Regions from separate parts of the Homo sapiens genome. Here region 2 is linked to region 1. The links are contacts of gene promoters, found by promoter capture Hi-C in blood cells and fetal thymus (Javierre and others, 2016). All regions are on one chromosome and are shown on one strand. Each heading gives the region's core, a stretch centred on a gene start or on the middle of the fragment in contact. The rest is flanking DNA. Distances are from core to core; before and after follow the strand shown.

Evidence for each region. Contacts are between HindIII fragments. The CHiCAGO score rates a contact against its expected background, and 5 or more counts as called.
Region 2: a contact is called between a fragment that was not itself captured here and the fragment with the promoter of SALL3 in region 1, in 1 of 17 cell types (endothelial precursors). The highest score is 5.8, in endothelial precursors.

What each region holds. Positions count from the first base shown.
Region 1 is chr18:78,977,651-78,982,649 of GRCh38, reverse strand. SALL3 (spalt like transcription factor 3) reads right to left here and starts at 2,832. Exons shown (of 3, transcript NM_171999.4): 1 at 2,294-2,832. The coding sequence starts at 2,375. It overlaps LINC01896 (long intergenic non-protein coding RNA 1896), which reads left to right and starts at 2,959. Exons shown (of 5, transcript NR_187297.1): 1 at 2,959-3,610; 2 at 3,912-4,187; 3 at 4,718-4,842; 4 at 4,960-4,999. RefSeq lists an enhancer at 586-1,415. The HindIII fragment of the contact is 14,735 bases long and covers 717-4,999 here.
Region 2 is chr18:77,767,493-77,772,491 of GRCh38, reverse strand. No RefSeq gene overlaps it. Among named protein-coding and RNA genes, the nearest start is that of LINC01029, 220 kb to the left of the region's middle. RefSeq lists a silencer at 132-332. The HindIII fragment of the contact is 3,308 bases long and covers 1,352-4,659 here.

The DNA.
Region 1 (4,999 bases), core at 1,583-4,082:
ATTTACCTTTTTATAATTTTTACTTAGTTATCTTAGGAACGATGCTGAGTGCGACCGAGTAATACACAAATGGGGCATTCCTTGACTTAACACGGAACAGAGTGTCTGTTATGCTCCTTGAACAAGCTGCTTCGAATATAATTAAATGAGAAAGAACTTAAAAAAAATAGTTTGCCTAAACTCTCTCAAACAAGCATGTGAGCTGCTCGACCAAGACTCGGCCCCACACAGGGTATTTTGGGCCTCTTGCAAAACATGACCAGGAACTGTGGCAACGTCTGGATTACAATTCTGGATGCTGTGAAAAACACAGGCTTGACAAGAACTTCAATTCTACCACGGGTAAAAAACCTGAATATTTTGCATCTCTAAATAAATTCGAGCAGCAACAAGAGGGATTCAAAGTAGAACTTGTGAATAATTTATCCCATCTTAGGCTTTCAAATATAGGCGATATAGCCCTCCACACGTTTACACTATTAAGTTCAGCATGCTCACATTTCTGAAGTGAAATTAAAAATGAATAGCAGTGCCTCAGCTTGTTAATTGTTAAATACCAGGGGGTTTACTCTATTAATTAAAATATGCTTTAATAAAAGGAGACATCGCACATTTTGATACCGACCCTACAAAGCTGAGAAGTATTTACATTGTTGCATTTTGGGGCGGCTGTGAAAGCCGATTTTAAGCCATTCAGGAGCCACAATAATAAAGCTTTAAAATTCCTCACTGGGACGCAATGTAGTTCTTTTGAAGGAAAGACTGTCTTTCTCATTCGGCAGAAATAAATCCATTCATTTGATCATGTAGTCATTGAGGGCGATACAAAACAAACCAAGTGTGAGAAATTCTATGTGATGAAGTAAACAAAACAAAAAAAAATCCATTTCCATGACAAAAAGATTCTTTGTCCTTAATCTACCCACCATATGCAAGCGTTTCTTTTTAGCATATCGCCTGTTCTCATCTTGGCTGACTTGGCTACACAGATAAGACTCCCTTACCTCCACCGCAACAAAAAGACCCCAGCGAGCTCACTAATTTTATTTAATTCATTAATTCTCCAGCCGCGTCATAAGCATGCTCTCTCGTTCTCATCCGACATGGGTGTCTACCCGCTTTGTCAAACTTTACTCCACTGTGTGGGAAACTCTTCCGCCCCGTTTCCTTTTCGCAGACAGTCTCATTCTCAGAGTAAAAAGATCACCATCTGCCTCCAACAACTTATAACAGGTCAATCATAAAAGTTGGCCTGCCTGTTTTTTTAAGGAGCAAATTATTTTACTGCGAGCTGTGCTGCGGGCTCGGGGTCGTGGGGTCGCCCCTCCTCGGCCCTCTTTCCTGGCGCCCTGGGGGCCCCGCGGGGCGCGCCGAAGCCCGGGCGCCGCCGGCCGAGGTTTTGACTCGACGAAGGGGGTGGGGGCGCCCCAAACTTTGCGGGGCTAAGGCGCCACTCTGGGAAGTCCAGCCCTTTGCCAGTCTCTTAACTTTCGCGGCGCCTGCCCTTTGCTCTTGGATGTTTCGAAGAGGACGCTCCTACCAGCGAAATGACTGCAAAGCCGAGGTCTCCAGCGCCCGGCCTCGGCGGATCCAAAAAGACGGGAGAGAAAAGGCCCGCGCAGACGCTGCAACGAACGCCCCGGAAACACGCCGCGAGCAGGGGCCAGGCCCAGGCCGCCGCCGCTGCGCTCACCCCCAGCTTAATTCCCCGGGCGGCCATTAGGCAGAGCCAAGCCCCCGACCTTCTCCTCGCCTCGCGAGGGATCACAGGCTGCGTCAACGCGCTGGGACACCGCGGGTCACCCGAGGCGGTGCGGGGGCCCGGGAGGGGCCGCGGGCCCCCGAACAAAGCTGGCCGGGCGGCGGGGTCCCCAACCCGCGTCCAGCGGTAGGTGGGCTGCGGTCGCCTTCCCCGCCGCCGCCGGCCTCAGCGTCCTGGCGCAGAGACCCTGGGGGGCGGCGCGGCGGCGGAGGCACCGTGGACTCCCTCCCGCCCCGGCCTCCGAGCCGTCCTCGAGCCGGCCGCGGCCTCGGCGCCCTTCGCGGGCAGCTCCCCGACTCCGAGGAGAGGAGCCAAGTTTACTTCGCCCACAACTCTCTCGGCGGCCGCGCGCGCTCCGGCGAAGTACCCGGGGCCCCGCGGCCGGCCTGGCGCGGGGCGGACGCTTGCCCGCAGGAAGCAGGGAACTTTCTCCCGCTCCCGGACGCGCGCATCCGCTCCCGCCGCACGCGCTTCCCCAGCCCGGACGGGCAGCCCCAGACCCCCCGGCCACCCCGCAGCCCCGGCCCTCACCGTGCTCGGGAGCCCCGTCAGGCGGCAGCAGCTCCTCGTCCGACTTGAGGTGCTGGGGCTTGGCCTGCTTGCGCCGAGACATGCTGCTAGCGGCGCTCGGGCCCCGCGCGGGGCAGCGGCATCAGCGGGGCGGCCGGCGGGGACGGCGCGGGGCGGCCTGGCGGGCGCGCGGCGCGGGGCGCGGGGCGGCGGCGGCTGCGCGGGCCGCGCATGGGGCTGAGCAATTAGGCTGGTGAATAATGCATGGCCATTAGCGGAGGGCCGCGCCGATTGGCCGGGCTCCAGCGGACTCCGGCGGCCTATGCAAATGAGGCCGCGCTCGCAATTAGCGGCCGCGCCGACGAGGAGGGGGCCGCGGCGCCTCGGGACCGGGGCGCGCGCTGCCCGGCGCCGCCTCACATCGCGGGCTCCGGCGCCGCGCTCCTCGGCCGCCCCGGGTGCGGCTGTGGCGGGGCCCGGGTGCGGCGCGGGCCGCGGTGGCCGTCCCTCCGCAGGGCGCAGGCAGCAAACTTTGGCGGCGTCCGCGCGGCGCCGTCTCCGCCGGCGCGCCGGGCTCGCCCCTTTATAGAGTGTCTGCGCCGCCGCCCGCGCCCCCCCCGCCGCCGCCGCCGGGCGGCCCCTCCCGGAGCGAGCGGCCGCGGGCAGGGCTCCGACCCGGCGCCTTTGTCTCGCCCGGGCCGCTCGGGCGCCGCGCCTCCTGTTCCGGGCGCGCGGGGTCGGCCGGCCGCCTTCGCTGCTCCGCCGCGGCTCTCAGCGCCGCTCAGCGCGGCGGGCCCGCCCGGGCTCAGGTGCCCCCCGCTCTCCGGACCTTCTCGCCCGGCCCCGCGTCCCCTCCGCGGGCTTCCCCCGGCGGCCGGCCGGGCTCGGAGGCTCGCGGCCGGAGCGGAGCGGAGTGCGCACGCCGGGGTGGCAGGACTTCGGCAAGACCAACTTTCCGGTTCGGAAGCGGCGCGGGCCGCGCGGCTCCTCCCCTCCTCTCCCTCCCCTGCGTTCCCCCTCCCTTCCACTCCCCCCTCTCCCCGCCCCCCAACCCGCGGGCCCCACCGACTCCGGAGCGCCCGCCCCGCCCGCTGCTGCCACCGGGCCGCCTCGCCCCCGCGCCAGCCCGCCTGGGCCTCTGCGCCGCCGGCGGCTTCTTAAATACAGGAAAGGGAGGGGACCGCAGGGCCCCGGTGTTCCCCACCCTAGTCCCCCTTCACCACGGGCCACCGGGCGCCAGCGGAGTGGGCAGCGAGCGCGACCGAAAGTTCCAACTCCACCAAACTCCCGCGCGCGGCCCACCCTTTCCCGGGATTTCGGGGATGACACGGGGGCCAGGTGAGGGGGCTGCGCACTTCTGGATCGGCCCCACACACTCGGCCCCTGGCGCGGCGCGCTCCCCGCACACGCGCCCGCCCCCTCCCCGCGGTCACACGCACGCGCCCTCGCCCTCGCCCCGCGCGCACAGGCGCGTACTCCCACCCGCGGCCGTGCACCCGCCGCGCTCCTTCCCGCGCGTGTCCTCTCTCCCCGAGCGGCCGCCAGGATGTGCCCCCGGCCCCGTCGTCGCCGCGCCCGCGCCCCTCGCCCCAGTACGTCTTTTTTCGTTTCCTAAATTTCTTATTTTTGTCCTTGCAAGTGGTCCTGTCTGGTGTGAACCGTCAGCACAGATGGCCTCCTGGAGCTTCCCCGAGTCGTTCGCTGGGGGAAGCGGGCGGTGAGCGGCCAGCCCGGGCGCTCCGCAGGCCGCGAGCTCCCGGCAGGGCTGGTGGCGGGGGTCCGCCTGGGGGAGGAATCCCCGCCTGCTCCATCGGACCCGGCCTGGCGCGGCTCGCGGCGCTCGGCGGGCTCCCTTCCATTCTAGAATCTTCCCGCTTGCTTCCCAGCCCGCGTTCTTCCGCCTGCCTTTAATTGTGTAAGTTTGACGAAGTCAGAGCTTTGGGTTCCAGGAAAAGCGCAGGAGGGTCATAGAGGAAGGGAGGGCGCAGGTTGGAGTCAGGTCCAAACAGTCCCTATCGCCACTTTTGAAAAAAAAAAAAAACAACAAAAACCCTTAAGGTTGGTTTTATTTTGCCTTTTGGTAGCGGGCGTATTCATTTAGATTTTTTTTTCAAGACAGGCAAATAAAAGGTGTTTGAAATCTCTAGTTATCCCGTTTAACACACCCATCGATGGCGCTTTTCTAGTTAAGCTACGGGGGAAACGTCTTTATCCCGCAGTTAGGCTGCGAACTTGTGCAGATGCTCAGGCTTTGTGGAGACGCTCCGGCATCTGGCGCAGAGGCGCCCGGCGGGGAAAAGTTTGCAGCCCGGGCTTTGGGGCGCGCGGGGGGCAGGAATTTTTCTGAGAAGAGAGGGGCATAGAGAGGCGGCGCGGGTGGGGAGAGAAAAAAGGAACGCAGGGGGGAGGGGGAAAAGCAGCTTGCAGGATGGGAGTTTCTTGCAGAATTTACAGGATTAAGGAGTTTGGGGAAGTCGCAGAGCTGCAGCGGAAAGGCAGGGGTCTGAGACTACTTTTGAGAAGAGAAACAACGCAAAACGATCGCTGGAGGGCCAGAGCCCTGGTCGAAGGTGCCCTAGCTTTTATGACCTGGTTAATTGTGTCTCCTTTTTATTTTTATTTTTTTCCTTACCACTACTACTACTACTACTTTTATTTTTTTTTAACCGATACACTTTGGAGAGAAGAAGCAGACACAGGTTCCCACGGCGTCTGACGCCTGCGGAG
Region 2 (4,999 bases), core at 1,756-4,255, 1.2 Mb after region 1:
ATGGCTGCTCCCCACATCTGCTACGGCCATACCCCTTCCGGCTATCTTTCTTTCCATTCGCTTGCTCCTCCCTTTCTTTATGGTAAATTTCTCCATGCAAATTACTGCATGAGTCATCTCCTGATTGGACTCAGACACTGCTTCTGTGTAAGATGCTTATGTATGACTGTAGCTGAGATAAAAAGTTGTGTGCAAAACCCTAAGAAATGCAGTGTGCATGCATGCTGCCACCGTAAGGTTGTGGTTAACATCCACAAAGTCATGAGGTATGTCCTTGCTGGGACTTCAGTTCTGGTGATGCTAGCTTTGGAAACGAATGTGCAGCAGCCTGCTGAGAGACCCCACAAAGGTAACGCTACTTTCACGTCCACGCAGACACACCTATGGAAGGCGGGGTTAGTCAGCTGCAAACCTTACTTGAGGTATTTGAGACTGGACACCAGGTACACGGGAATTCTTTTTCTCTTGAAAGTATCTTGAATTCTAAATTTCTAAGTATGAAAATATATACACTTATTTTCATTTTCAATCTACATTAATCAAATCACTGCTGGCTTTCAAACTCAATGCACTTTAGTGAACATGAAGTTTGTTTTATGTGTATTCAATTTTTTACAGAAGGAGTGGTGAGAAGCTTTTCAAAGAGTTATGAAGGAAATAAACTTAAGCATATTTGCGTGGACCATTAAGAAGCTCTGGCTACAGGGACTCAGTTGTTTCCATCTTTCTAGATAGCCGGCTGACACATGCAGCTAAAGAGACAATAATGCATTCGATCAAGATGCACAGAATATTGACATGTGCCTTCAGCGAGGCTCAAATTTTCCTATTATTCATTGAATATTTGCAATTGGAAGCCCTAGGCTGCATAGAAAACCTGGTGTGTTTCTAAAGTTGTTAGAGTCTCCGATAGTTTTAGACATATTACATTAAAAAAAAGAAAACTGAGCTGTGCAGAATGGACACTTAAGGACCAGAATGGATCTGAGCTTGTGGAGTGAACCATACAGATCATCAGAGAAAAGACCCCAATACACTTAGTCTCCTTAGAGGGGTTGGACAGGTGCCTGTGGTTGTATCAGGGTACCAAATTGCCTTTCCTGAAAAATGGGAATTGAGGGTAAACATGAAAAGCAAAGCTACAATAATTCTAATGCTCATTATATTATTGAACCATGTGACTAGGAAATGAGTGAAATTCTGAGAAAACTGGAATTTGAGGCTAGCAAATGGCCAGATGAGGTATTATTTTTCTAGAAGTCTTAGCTTGTAATGCAAACGCGTGCACTTACACACACACTCTGAGGAAATACTGTTGCATACTGGAGTTCCTTGCCTATCATAAAAAGCTTGTGACATCCCATCAATATCTAATTGTATTAGTTATTCTACAGGGGTTCCAGGAAAACTGATGGAGAGGACTCTCAAGTATTGATCAACGTCCTGAAATCCCGTCCTATTGTTTACTGAACTGGTCAATTATCATTGAATTTTTCATTTTGAGTTGAAATGGAAAATTAACAAAAATTAAGCAATTTTGTAAAACATGTTATCATGAATGGAAAAGAACTGAGGTTTTAGTGTCACACTACATACTCATAGCTTTTTGTCTAGACATATTATAAAATAAATACATGTCATTATTAACATATCAACTAGCCAAAATCATCTCCCACTACCCTTTTCTATCAAATGAAATAGAACAGAAACAATATTAATTTACCTGTTATCTTAGACTTATAATCTTCTCTCTCGAAGTCAGAATATTGAAAGTTATTAACTGTTAAGATCGCAACTATTATCTCATTGGTTTGATCATAAGCCAGATTTTAAAACATCTATTGACAAAAATTACATGTTAACTGTTTGAGTTTTTTAAAGAACTAACTATTTTTAATTAAATTAATTTTCTGGTCTTAAAGTAGAAAAATAGAGAATCCAACAGGTGGATTATTTTTTAGATAGGTAACAACATAAAGTAAAATCTCCTGTATGATATAAGCTAACAGTGGAAATGTCCAGATTTTAAAATATACATAACCCAGAAATGCCAAGATGTCATGGAGAAGAATTATGGGAAATCCAGAAAAAGCAGTTTCTACCTATGTCTCATGACTGAGCTTGACACACATTTTAGGTCTGGGAAGCAACAAATGTGTGTTTGTCGGGCCTACAGAATGCCTGTTGTGGTCTCCATGCCAGCTGAGAACACTGTGACAAATACAGATTAGAGCGATAGTAAATACATTTCACACACAATCGAGGGGTTACCTTAGTTGTTCACATCTAGACAATTGTCAGTTCTAGATACTGAATATGCATTCTGATTGGTCCATTTATGGATTTATGGAACAGAAAGTAACATTGAGGGGAGCAAAAATAAGTATGCCTAGGGTTTTTCAGGGGCAGTAAAATGTGCATTTGAGAAAAATCAGGCCTGTATTATTAGCAATTAACAAGGCAGGTTAAAGAGGCGAGTAGCAGATGGAGATCAGGCTGTAAAATGACCCCACCATCATGACCACATCACCAGACAATGCCACCATGACCACGCCATCAGGATTATGCCACCAAAACCATTCCACCATGGCCATTCCATCACAGCCATGCCACCACAGCGATGCCACCAGGACCATGACATCACAGCCATGCCACCGCAGCTATGCCACCAGGACATTGACATCACAGGGATCAACCACAGTGATGCCACCAGGACCAAGCCATCTCAGCCATGCCACCACAGTGATGCCACCAAGACCAAGCCATCACAGCCATGCCACCACACTGATGCCATCAGGACCAAGCCATCACAGCCATGCAACCACACCAATGCCACCAGGACCATGACACCACAGCCATGCCACCACAGCTATGCCACCAGGACCATGACATAATAGGGATGCCACCATAGCGATGCCACCAGGACCAAGCCATCTCAGCCATGCCATCACACCGATGCCACCAGGACCAAGCCATCATAGCCATGCCACCACAGCAATGCCACCAGGACCAAGCCATCACAGCCATGCCACCACAGCGATGCCACCAGGACCAAGCCATCACAGCCATGCCACCACACCAATGCCACGAGGACCATGACACCACAGCCATGCCACCACAGCGATGCCACCAGGACCATGACACCACAGCCATGCCACCACAGCAATGCCACCAGGACCATGACACCACAGCCATGCCCCCACACCAATGCCACCAGGACCATGACACCACAGCCACACCACCACAGCAATGCCACCAGGACCATGACACCACAGCCATGCCCCCACACCAATGCCACCAGGACCATGACACCACAGCCATGCCACCACAGCGATGCCACCAGGACCAAGCCATCACAGCCATGCCACCACAGCGATGCCACCAGGACCATGACACCACAGCCATGCCACCACAGCGATGCCACCAGGACCATGACACCACAGCACCATTACCACATCCTCATGACCACATCATCATAACTAGAGATAGAGAGATTGCTCAACCCATTAGGGAGCACAAATATCAAGGAGAGTCAGTTCTTTGATTTTGCTCCACATTATTTATAGAATGCAAGATGTCAAGAGCACGATTTACAGATAAAATCTCCTTTAGAACCTTTTTATTTCCTATGTAAATTTACCAAAATCACAGGAAAATGTGTTTGTCTTAATCTTAGAAACCTTTTGTCATTGCATCTTACCTTTTATCAAAAGTAACCTTTAAAAAAAAACATTGCCTACTGTGACCAAAAACAGTCAACAAAAAGAACAATCTTAATCGCTTTAAAGGAGTCCGATAGAGTTGTAATTTGCCTTATAAACCACGTCACTGTGCCAGAGATTTACAGCAACATGTGATCTTTAAATAGACTGTATATCACCTTCCTGATGGTCATGCAATTAAGGATCTGGACATGAGGAACAAGACACTGCCAAAAAATACTTCTCAAAAGGGAATTTGTAATGTCAGGGAAGATAAAAATAATTTAGAATTCAGGGCGACATGATTTTAATGCTAAATACTTTGTGAAGATTAAGCCCCCAAATGTCCTATCTAATGCATAGAGTCTTTACTCTGGGCAACATGGGTAGAATGAAAGGAGATTAAAAAAGAAAACATAAGAAAAAGAATTTAATTAGGCAAAGAGCAAGCATATCGTAGATTTAATGAAATAAGATTGTTCAACTTATTTTATAAATAAGTAGTTTTAACAGCAAAATGTGAAATGCCTATGTAAAACAAAACAATGCAGTCAAGGTACTCCTTGCAATCTCTACTCAACCAAATGTTTTGGTAATTTGAGGCATTAGATTCATTGACTGAAATTTTAAAATTTTATCCAGATACTGTGTCATATACATAGAAAAGCTAAGATTGCACTTGTTAGTGTCATGACAGGCCTCACCTTCTCCCACTGAGCTTATTCGGGGCCTCTTCATGAAAATTGAGCTCAGAGTATTTAACAAAGAAAACCAATTGCCCAGACCTACTTCTATTCCCAATATACTACTGATATGAAAGGATTCTTACATCTATTAAATATAGTACTTATAAAAACAGAACATAAACATTATGTGTGAAATTATTGGATTTTTATTTGTTTTTGTTCAGCTTCATGAGTTCAGGGTCAGTGTTTGTTTATTGCTTTATCCCTAAGCTTCTAACACCAAGACCAGAAAATGGTAGACATGGAAAGGAGGCTTGTGGAATAAATGAATAAATAATCTCCACACTATTTCTTCAAATATTTCAAATCTCACGTTGCCATGTTCCTCTTCCTTAATATATTATTATGATATATTATATGATACACTCTGAGTTGTATATATAAAACATGTGTTACGTATTGTTCATATGTAAATGCGTGTGTGTGTGTGTGTGTATGGATTTGTATGGATATACCTGTGTGCCTGTAAACATGTATAAATACTATATGTACAATATGTTATATATAGTTAAGTACATGTTGATAGGCTGACATGTATCTATGCATGTATAT